2 separate regions of the Homo sapiens genome follow, and region 1 is linked to region 2. The links are contacts of gene promoters, found by promoter capture Hi-C in blood cells and fetal thymus (Javierre and others, 2016). All regions are on one chromosome and are shown on one strand. The core of a region is centred on a gene start or on the middle of the fragment in contact, and the rest is flanking DNA. Distances in the headings are between cores, read along the strand shown. Region 1 overlaps PDE6A (phosphodiesterase 6A). Region 2 holds the start of CARMN (cardiac mesoderm enhancer-associated non-coding RNA).

The links. The method cuts DNA at HindIII sites, captures the fragments that hold promoters and counts their contacts. A CHiCAGO score of 5 or more calls a contact.
Region 1: a fragment that was not itself captured here is called in contact with the fragment with the promoter of CARMN in region 2 in 1 of 17 cell types (M1 macrophages); the score reaches 5.6 in M1 macrophages.

The regions. Positions count from the first base shown.
Region 1 is chr5:149,932,293-149,937,941 of GRCh38, forward strand. It overlaps PDE6A (phosphodiesterase 6A), which reads right to left. Exons shown (of 22, transcript NM_000440.3): 2 at 2,274-2,426; 3 at 1,638-1,727. It also overlaps the pseudogene MFFP2. Among named protein-coding and RNA genes, the nearest start is that of PDE6A, 9.7 kb to the right of the region's middle. The HindIII fragment of the contact is 756 bases long and covers 1,821-2,576 here.
Region 2 is chr5:149,403,047-149,408,440 of GRCh38, forward strand. It overlaps CARMN (cardiac mesoderm enhancer-associated non-coding RNA), which reads left to right and starts at 3,799. Exons shown (of 5, transcript NR_105060.1): 1 at 3,799-4,032. It also overlaps a transcript of IL17B not described here. RefSeq lists enhancers at 1,847-2,437, 4,288-5,288. The HindIII fragment of the contact is 6,163 bases long and covers 1-4,334 here.

The DNA of each region.
Region 1 (5,649 bases), core at 949-3,448, 530 kb after region 2:
TTAGTCGGCCAACTGCACGGATTTCTTCATTTTGAGGGGTTGTAGGAGGTCTTTCTAAATCCAGAAAATCTAGTGGTCTTTCACTTAGCCTAAGTACACGAGGTGCTGTTTTTAGTGCGAGGAGTTTAAAGGGAGTTGACTGAATAAGGTCAAGATCTGCTGGTCTTGAAAATGAAACATCCTCATTATTTCCTGCTACAACAATCCTCTCTGGAACTTGCATTATTATCACGCTAGCATTTGGAACTCCTTTTTGGAATCCCTGTTCCAGGTTGGCGTTTGGCGGTGCTACTTTTAACTTTTCTGGGACCCTCATTCGCTGACTAATGCCTTCAGTATATTCCATTTCGTACGAATTCGACTAATTTCTGCCATCTCAGCAGCAGTGGGAGAAGGAAATGCTGCCCCACTCACCAAATGTGTACCAACTACTGCTTGCTGTTTGGCACTGTCGGCTTCTGTGCTTCATATTAAATCCTTTAACTTGCTTCAATGTGCATGTGCTGGATTGAGAGACACTTTTGTCCCCCTCCGCCCACAGGAGGGTCCCGGTGAGGACCGCCGCCCTCCGGCTCCCAGGGCGCTCAAGTGGGCGCTCTCAGAGGCAGTTGGCCGAGAGCACGGAGGCGCCCAGGCACAGCACCGGCGGAGTGGCCAGCAGAGGGCCAGGGCAGAAGCGCAAAAGCTAAAGTGTTTGTTTTTATGTATTTATTTTTTAGGGACAGAGTCTTACTCTGTCATCCAGGCTGGAGTACAGTAGCACGATCATAGCTCACTGTAGTCTCCAACTCCCGGGCTCAGGCAATTCTCCCATCTCAGCCTCCCCAGCAGCTGGGACTACAGGTGGACGCCACTGCACACAGATAATCTTTAAATTTTTTGTAGAGATGAGTTTCCACTTCTGGCCTCAAGCAATCCTCCTACCTCAGCCTCCCAAAGTGCTGGGATTATGGGCATGAGCCACCTTACCCAGCCCATTATCATCCATTTATTTTAAAAATTTTATTTTAAAAATAGAGATGGGGTCTTACTATGTTTCCCAGGCTGGTCTCGAACTTCTGGGCTCAAGCAATCTTCCTGCCTTGGCCTCCCAAAGTGCTGGAACTACAGGCGTGAGCCACCATGCCCAGTCCAATTATCTTCCATTTGTAGACAAACAAACTGGGGCTCAGAGAGATGAAGTAACTGGCTGCTTTACATTGGGTCCAGCTCTTTCCCTTTCATTTATCTCATAGGTTTTTAATAAAAATAATAAGAAACTTCAATTGAGCACTATTGCCCTATATGCATTATCTCGTTTACTATTGATGGCAACCTTTTGAGGGTGGCACCATAATCATCCCTATTTTTCAAATGGGGAGACTGAAGCATAGAGAGATTAAGTGACTCACTTAGGGTCTTAGAGCTAGGCAGTGGTTGAGCAGGGATTCAGATCAAAGCCATCTGTCTTGAAGCTTGTGCATATAACCACTGTGGTATACAGCTTTACAGACAACCACTACCTCATAACACTCGTGATGCTGGCCAGAGACTGGCTTCCTAGGCACCTTCATTCCCATCTGCCTGCCAGTCCTGACCACATCAATGCTTCAGGGAAAGGACGAGTCAAGTCCATTCCCTTGGCCCAAGCCCCTTACCTGGCCACGTCGAGTTTCACAGTTGTGCAGGTAACTCAGGTGGTACACCTTCATGATTAGATTTGCAAAATTGAGGTACTTGAGAAGAATCTAAAAATCAAACAGCATGAGGGGAGGCAGGTGAGAAGAAGAAATCCATCCTCTGGCTACTTTTACCATCAGCAAATATCTGAATATTTTCAAAGCTTCATCAGAGACAATTTGGGCAGATGGATCCTAGAATGCAGACTCATAAGATGTTGCATGAGCATAAAACTCACCGAATGTAGAATGTTGATGTTGATGGGAGTGTATTCATGAAAAATAGCTACTATTTATTAATAAGTTCCCTATGAGGTTGATACTGAAAAATTATCAACATTTTACAAATAAGAAAACCAAAGTTCAAAGAAGTTAAATAACTTGCAAAAGGCAAACAGCTATTGGCGGAGCCAGAACAATTATCCCTCTATTCCTGACTCCAAAGCCCAATGTCTTAACTATTATTTTATCCTGCCTCCCTCAGAGAACATCAGGTGAATTCCCTGTCTTACAGATGGGAAAACTGAGGCCAGGTCAAACAGCAAAGTTCAGGGGACTTCATAGGCTGGGAGAATGTGCTAGCATGGCTATCCTTAGTCTCTAAAGCATTCTTACCTCTTCATCTCTCTTGGTGAAGTGGGATCCATCCACTTTATTCACAGCCATGATTATGGCCACCACATCCTTCCCATTCATTATGGGGGAAGCCAAGATGTTCTTGGTCTTGTACTCTGTGAGGATGTCCACAAAGTCACAGAAATGCTCATCCTAAAGGAAGGCAGAGATAAGCACGGACAGGCAAATGAAGAGCAAGAACAGTGGAACGGCCCAAAGCCCCTGTTGACAAGGGAATAAAGGTGCTTCCATCTATTCCTCTTCAACAGGGGCAGGGAAATCAGAGATGACATCTGTCATGGAAGCTTCCAAAATCCAGTAGAAGAAGAAAGTCTGAGATGAAATCCACTGAGGGCTGTGGAGGAGAGGTGTGCAAAGCAGTGTGGGTTCCAGGGATGGGAGTGGGGGACTGACTTTGCCTGGAGAAGGAGGGTTAGAGAAGGCTTTCTTGAGGTGATGACAATTAAGCCCAGAATAAAAACCCAGGGTACAGCTAAGAGGAAGCCGGGTAAAGACTTTAGGAAGTACAACGACAGTTGCTAGCAGGCAGCGTGCATGGCATTTTACCTGCGTTATCTTACTTTTATCTTCGCAATAAGCTATGAGATAAGTACCATCAGTAGCCCATCTTACAGAAGGGGGATCTGTAACTCAAGAAGGTTAATGTCATGTGTGTAGATTGTGTAGACTGTGTGTGTGAGTGTGTGTGTGTGTGTGTATGTGTAACTCCAGAGCCTGCCTTCAGCTCTGCTGCCTCTTAGAGAAGCCTGGATAAGGTTAGACTTGGGTCTAGGTCATTGAACAAAAGAATTTGTTATTTTCAGCTTTTTAAACAATCCAGTTCTAGCACCACACAACCAGTTCAGTAGATATCCCCATTCTACGAATCTTAGTAGAAACCCCACTATGTGTCAGGCCTTATGTTAAGCACGGGGGATATGGGTGACCAAGGTTCAGGCCAGCTCAAAGAAAAATCAATAATAGTAATGTAGGTCACAAGGGATTGGCTTGAAGCTCTGAGTGTATAGAGGAGCACACACCTCCATAAACCTCCCCTAATGCAGCCCAGAGAAGCCATTATAGGCTGTGGTGGACCATGCGGTCAGGATGAAAAGACAGAGCTTGAATTGTTCTCTTAAATTTACAAGAATCCTCCTTTCTGTTTATTGGTAGCACTGTGAGGTTTTTGGACTGTCAGCATTGCTTGGGAGGCGGGCCAGCCCAAACATGCTCAGCTCACGCCGTTCTGAGTGGAAATGTACTTCATAGAGCCAATTCACAGAACTTTTCTAAAACTAAGTCTGGGCCAGGCGTGGTGGTTTACGTCTATAATCCCAGCACTTTGGAAGGCCAAGGTGGGAGTATTGCTTGCGTTCAGTAGTCCAAGACCAGCCTGGGCAACATAGCAATATCTTGTATCTACTAAAACTCAAAAAAAATTAGCCAGGTGTGGTGACATGTGCCTGTAGTTCCAGCTACTCAGGAAGCTGAGGCAGGAGGATTGCTTGAGCCCAGGAGTTGGAGGCTGCAGTGAGCTATGATTGTACCATTGCACTTTACCCTGGGTGACAGAGCAAGACCCTGTCTCTAAAAAAGGAAGGAAGGAAGGAAGGAAGGAAGGAAGGAAGGAAGGAAGGAATTCAGAGCATAATGCTCTGCATCTATAGATTTCTTCTAGTTGGAATGGGATTAAATAAATAGTCAACAGCATTATTATCAGTGAAGCTGTTTAAAACCAGGTGAAGGGTAAAGGAATTAAGAGAAGCTTGTAGTGCTGTACTTGAATTAACATTTGAGGATTAAGCAAAATCTCTAAAAAGGCATTAGTCAAGAAGTGGTATCTGTGTCATTTTCTAAGCTACTGATGAGTTCCTGAGCACGTGTCTAGGTGGAGTATGCTCAGATTCATTTCATGAAGTCATTTCAGTTTCCCAATGTTCACTTCTTTCAGGAAAAGCAAATATTTGGGCCTCACCTGCATCCAAGGCAGATGCTACCAAATCCACCAGAAAGCTCATTCCCACTGGGTACTCAGTCCTGGAACTCCCCTCATGAGTACTTCAACTGCCAATTGACTGGCATTTACATGATCATTATCATCCCTATATATTCAGCATATAAAGTGTTCTAAACAACCATGTCACAGAATCTCAGATTATCAAAGGCAGAAGGAGACTTAGAAGCCATTTAGCTCAAACTAGTAAAAGTAATGGCAAGAACCACGATTACTTTTGCACCAACTTATATTTATTTTAAATCCTAGAATCAGAGGCTGAGCTAGGGAAAGACCAAAGTGATTCATCCATTCAGTTAGCATTATCAGAGTGTCTTCCATATGCTAGGCACTCTTCCAGACCCTGAAACTACAGCAATGAACATTACTGTTGTAATATAAGGTGAACCTTACATTCAAACGGCGAGACAGACAAAAAAGCAAGTAAACAACTAGGCATTCTTCCTCCAACTTGAGGAAACTGCTTTGAAGGAAATGGACTGGATGGTGCTGTAGAGAGTGATGAAAGGGATGGCAGGCTGGTGGGTAGGGAGCCTTCTCTGAAGATGTAATGCTGAGCTAAGAGCTGAAGGATCAAGGGAGCCAGGTATATGAAGCACATTCTAAGCACGGAGCATGCAAAGGCCAGCAGGTAGGAATGAGGCTGGTCCTCGTGAGGAACAGAAAGAAAATCAGTGTAGCTAAAGCATAGAGAGGGAGAGGGAAAGCAGAGGGCAAGGAAGTTAAAGAGGCAGGCAGGGGCCAGATCCAGCAGGGCTTTGGAGGCCATGGGAAAGAGTTTTGATTTCATTTTTATGTATTCACTTATTTATTTTTGAGACAGAGTCTTGCTCTGCCATCCAGGCTGGAGTGCAGTGTAGCCATCATGGCTCACTGCAGCCTCGACCTCCTGAGCTCAAGCCATCCTCCCACCTCAGCCTCCAGAGAATCTGAAACAACAGGGGCGTACCACCATGCCCGACTAATTTTTGTATTTTTTGTAACACTAGGATTTTGCTGTGTTGCCCAGGGTAGTCCTGAACACCTGGGCTCAAGTGATCCTCCCACCTCGGCCTCCCAAAGTGCTGGGGTTACAGGTGTCAGCCTGCACCTGGCTGAGTTTGGATTTTAAAGTGCAATGCAACACTACTTCTCATTCCCAGATTCCTCATTTCCCCTTTGCAAACATTCACAGTGCCAAGCTCTGTTGCATCTCATGATGAGATCTACTATTTACTGAGTAATAATGACTAGGCTCAGAGCCAGACAACTGACATATATTATCTCATTAACTCTCACATCAGCCCTGCCAAATAGAACTGCCACCTTTCCCATTTTATAGACAACTCCCTTGCTGGTAAGTGGCACAGTTGCTCCACTTAT
Region 2 (5,394 bases), core at 2,549-5,048:
GTTTTTTGTTTGTTTTGTTCTGTTTTGTTTTGTTTTGTTTTGTTTTGTTTTGTTTTGAGACAAGGTCTCATTCTATAGCCCAGACTGGAATGCAGTGATGCAATCTCGGCTTACTGTAGCCTCTGCCTCCCAGGCTCAAGTGATCCTCCCACTTCAGCCTCCCAAGGAGCTGGGATTACAGGCACAGTCCACCATGCCCAGCTAATTTTTTGTATTTTTTATAGAGACGGGGTTTCACCGTGTTGCCCAGGATGGTCTCAAACTCCTGGGCTCAAGAGATCCTCCTGCCTCAGCCTCCCAAAGTGCTGGGATTACAGGTGTGAGCCACCACGCCTAGCCATGTGGGCAGCTTTCCATGGTATGATGCTTTTGAGAAAATGGTTGGATTGCAAGGCAAATAATTATAGGCATTTCATCACTAATTGTCCATATTCCCACCTCCCACATACCAACTCTACCAACAAAAAAAAAGTTTTATGTTCATTGAAGAGAACATATGGGGCTTGATTTTTAACTCAGGGGTTATGGGCCTTTTCAATATAAAATTGTTTCCCAACTGGCCACCTCTGAGCTGAGCCTCCTGGGTAGAATTAGTGTGAATTCAGGGTTGGAGATTAGGGACAGGTTGGGAGGTGAGAACAGAAAGGGTGAAGTGAAGCCCATACGATCTCAGGGCTGGGAAGGGACTTGCCAAGTTGTCCAGCCTCTGCTTGCATTCCCTTAATAACAGGGAACTCACCACTTTACCAAGACAGCTTGTTAGCCCACTTCATCCTTGGTTAGTTCCACTGGCTTAAAAAGTATTTCCCATGTGGATCTAGATTCCATCTTCCTAAAGGTTCCAACTGTACCAATTCAAGGTCTTCCTTGGTCACTCTGTAGAGAAGTAGAGCCGGCTCTCCCAGGGCCCATGAGTCCTCTATTCTCCTGGACAGGGTCCCCCTCCCCCTGACTAAATACACCATCTGAAAACACAGGACTCAACGATGCAAACTCACTCTCATACTCAGCTCCTAACAGGAACCTCCCTTCACCTCCCAAGAAGCCTTACTCACACATACCAAGCCGCAGTCTGTCGACCTGTTTTCTCTAGGAATGGAGGGATTTCAAGGCTGCCTCTCCCAGTCTGGAAAGAAAAGCCACTTCACAGAATGAGTTGTTCATAATGTAAAGTGTTCATAACTCCCAAGAGACAGTATGGGCAGGAAATAGAAACAGCTTCCAAATATTTGAGACAGATTTATGGACACTGAGTCACAAATGGCTGCCATATACTTCGCCTTTTGAGCTAGTCTGGTGGCAGAACACCTCTCTCCTGATATTCAAGGACCTGTCTCCAGGTCGCTTCAGTTCCTTGTCTTGCCTCTCGCAATGGGCTTTCTGCTGACCAAGCCCATTGACTCATGGGCGTAGCCGACTAAAGCACTCGGCCAGGTGCAGAGTTTTTGGGCATTTCAATGGTGGGGGTCTCCCCACAGCTTGCACTGCTAGTTTTTCTGTTTGTTCTTGATGACGAACTCTCTACTGTTTATACAGTAGCAGAACTCACAGAAGCATAACTTACGTTTCACAGCCTCCAGAGTGGACTTTACATAAACACGATGTTTCTGTTAGGCCGGCTTTATCTTCCCTCTAGAGTCTGTCAGTGGTGCTTTGGAGTATTCGACTGGGCCACTGTGCAGGGTTGGGGAGTGGTGTCACAAGCCTTCCCTAACCCACCATCTCTGACCTGCACCCCAGGGCATGCACATGAACGGAATTCATCTTCTTGGTTTGGAAAAGAAGGGGGTGACATTAGTGGCGAAACCTCCGTGTAGAGCTCTCGCACCGCAACTCTGAGTCATAGCTTACATCGATCAAGCACTCACTCTGAAGCAGGCTCGGGGCTAAACCTTCACAACCATTGACTCTGTGCTACAGAGGAGACAGTGATCTTCACAGAAGTTAGTTCCCAGAGGGCTTTCCCCAGCCCCACCATTGGGAGCAGAGGGGCAGGGCTGAGCCCAGTCTCACTCGAGTCCTGCTCACACCTTCCTCCAGGACTGCACGGGCCACCTCGCCCAGCCCTCATGGCAATGCTGAAGGCAGGTGTGATTCTCGCCATTTTACCCAAGGGGAAAGGGAGGCACCGGGGGAAAGGGAGGCTGGGAGCGGCAGACCTCACAGCTAGGAAGTGGCCAAGGCAGGAAGAAGCCCACCGGCCTTTCAACACCAACAGAATTCTTTCCTCAGAAGGAATGAGGGAGGGTGGAGGGGTAAGGACATGGCATTTTTAATCCTCCTGTTGGACTGGGAGGCTCTCAAGGTCAGGGACAGTGTCTGATTCAGCACCCCACCCCCTCGGGCCCTCAACTGGCCCCACTCAGGATGTCACAAGGCCCCGTGTGCTGCTGGAGGGGGTCCCAGGGTCGGTGACAGGCAGACCACAGCCTCTGGCCTGGAAGGAGGAGAGAGGGATTGGCAGGCCCATCCAGGCTGGGGGTCTGAGGAACTGTGAATGAGGCCGTGAACAGAGACCGCTGGGGTCCAGCAGGCCTGGCTGCAGAAGGGAAGCTCTGCGCAGTGGAAGGCAGGACCCGGTGGCAGCCCTGGGAGCAGGCCCCGCTGGCCCCTGGGAGAAGACCTCCATGGGCCTCAGCACGACACTCCTAGGCTGGCAGCCGAGGCCTGGTTCACGTGATCCCTTGATTTGTGTTTTCTGACCTTTCTTCACAGACACTCTAGGAAGCCTGGGGACACAGAGCCTGCCAGGGGAAGTCACACTCTCATGAAAGAGCTAGCCAGCAAGAAACTAGAACCGTGGACATGTAAGATAGGCACATGCGTGGCGAGTCCGAAGCGGGAAGCAAGCAGAGGGTGTGACAGAATACTGAGGGGGCCAGGGAATGGCTCTTCCAGAGGAGACTTCTGAGTGGGAGACAGGAGCAGGGGAAGGAGCAGCATGAGCTCTGGGAAGAAGGCATTTTTGGCAGCGAGCAATGCAAGTGCAAAAGCCCTGAGGCATGAAAAACACTAAAGAATCTGTAGGAGGCCAAGGTGGCCAAGCAAAAGGAGAAAGAGGGACTCCGGCAAGAGATGGGCATTTCTCAGGACTGCGGTGGCAGGGAAAAGAGAGCCCCCTGAAGGACATTCCACATTCAAACCCCTGCCCTGTGGTGACCCTGCCAGGTGGCTGGGTCAGGATCTTCCCTGTCAGGCCCAGGCCTCGTTTGCATGATGATGGGAGTAGCTTCCCACGGTCTGGGCTCTCCTTCCCCATGTTCTCCTGTTCCCCCAATTCCCATCACCCAGATTCCAGGAGCCAGGACTGGTGTCTCCCCTACTGGAGGTTCCCAGAAAGTCTCAGAACTCCCACTGCAGTCCTGGGACACAGGGGCTGGGGGAGGAAGGAAATTCTCACACAGCTTTCTCCCAGGGAGTTTGCTCTTGTTCCCAGGCTGACAACTGGCAACCCTCAGAACTCTGTTCCCCACCCCCTTCCTCCTCCTCCTCCTCCTCCTCCTCCTCCTCCTCCTCCTCCTCTCCCTGCCTCCCTCTCTCCCCTGCCCCCCTTCTCAGGCTTAATGACTTCCACATGGGCCTCTGGTGGCTGGAGCCAAGGCTCCCAGCATTGTCTGAAATCTCCAAATTTAGAAGAAATATGAAAATTGTCAACCACTCCTTCCTTAGGGGGTAAAAGCAACATTCAGCACCGGGGGCAGGTCAAGGCAAGGTAGTCACGTGGGGGGTGCCTGGGCCAATGGGGGGCCCTGGGAGGGCTCAGCACCCGCCTCGCCCCAATACGGGGCTTGCCTCTTCAGCTCATATAAGGTAAAAGGCAGAGTGGCCTCTGTGGCCAGGGAGCCGCAGGCAAGGGACTAAGGGGAGGGGGGCTCAGTGCCAGCTGCTTAAAAATGCCCCTGTGGCAGCGAGGGGCACCAGAGGCTGGGTCTAATTAGTTGAGAAGCAGTGACACCCCCAACCACTCCCCAAACAGGCTGGCTCCCGTCTCCAGGCCCCAAGGAGCCACACCTGGACCAGACCCCAGGAAAGGTAAGCACCAACGGCAGACCTGGGATCCGTGGGTGGGGGCCTCTGGGAATTTCCCTAGGGGGATGCTGCATCTGGGGGTCTTGCTGTCTTGCTAACTGGCTCTGTCCCTTTCTGGACACAGATTCTCTGGGTCTCAGTTTCCCCATCTGTACAGGGGCTGGAGTCAATGATCTCTAAGCATCCATCCAGCTGATCGGCTCTAGTTCTATGGTCCTGTTGGCTTCTAGGATTCCTTGTTGTTGTAGTCAATTGGGGGAAGAAGGTGCAGAGGGAGTGCACAGAGTTAACATCCTATCAGCCCAAGCTTCACCTCGGCACCCGAGTCTCAGGCAGTCTCCCTGGCTTCTACATAGGCAGTGCTTCTTCCTCATTGTGTGGGGCTTTGATTTTGTAATTCCAAGAGCCTGGGGCTCCTGGCAAGGAAAATGGTTTTCAAATAATGGTTTCGAGAAACAAAGCTGGGGAAGAGGCAATGTAAGCTCAGGCTCTGGCAGGCAGGCAGAGATCCTGGGAAGGCTGGGTGCTGACTGCACATGGAGCAATGGGAAGGGATGCTGGTGAGAGGAGACGGGGGCACTTAAGCTCCGGCCCCAGCTCTGCTCTCAGTGCCCGGCTCTGTGGTCTTGGGCTGGCCCCCTCCCTTCTCTGGGCCATAGTTTTCCCATCTGTATAGCAAGGCCATTGGACAAAATGGTCCCTCTGCAGATGTGGCTTCTGAGTTGTTTGTGCCTGAGGGACAGCCAGTGTTGGGAAGTTCCCCCAGGAGGTCCCTGAGCCGAGTCTGAACTTTGACCACAAGCTTGGAGTCCAAGCAGATGAAGTCCTGTGGGAGCTTTTGGAGGTTGAGCCTGAGTGAGGGAGAGTAGCTGAAGGTTCTGTGACTGAAGGCTTGGCCAGAGGGGTGCCCCGAGCCCTCCAGATGAACTTGGCTGCAACCAGCCTCTGGTGGGGAAAGGACTGATCTCTGGATTCAACCACACAGGAATGTGGGACATGGAAGTAGGTAAGGGATGGAAAAGATGGCAGAGGGCTTCGCGGGATGAAGCAGTGGGGCCAGGGGACTTAGAGGAATGCAGGAGGCTTGTGATGGGAGGCAGGGCTGGGTAGAGGCAGGGGCTTAGGATTGGAACTTGAAGATGTACAGACAGCATGGAGTCGGGCTCCTCTGAAAACACTCTGGCCACATCCGGAGCCCAGAACAGAACAGTCCTCTAGCACCGGCCTCTGTCTTGTACCCTCCACCTTCCCGCTTCTTGTCACACAAGACCCAAGGCCATCATGGTTCAGAAGGAGGCTCTGAATTCAACTGCCTGGGTCCAATTCTGGCTTGTTTACTTACTGGACAAGTGACCCTGGGCAAGT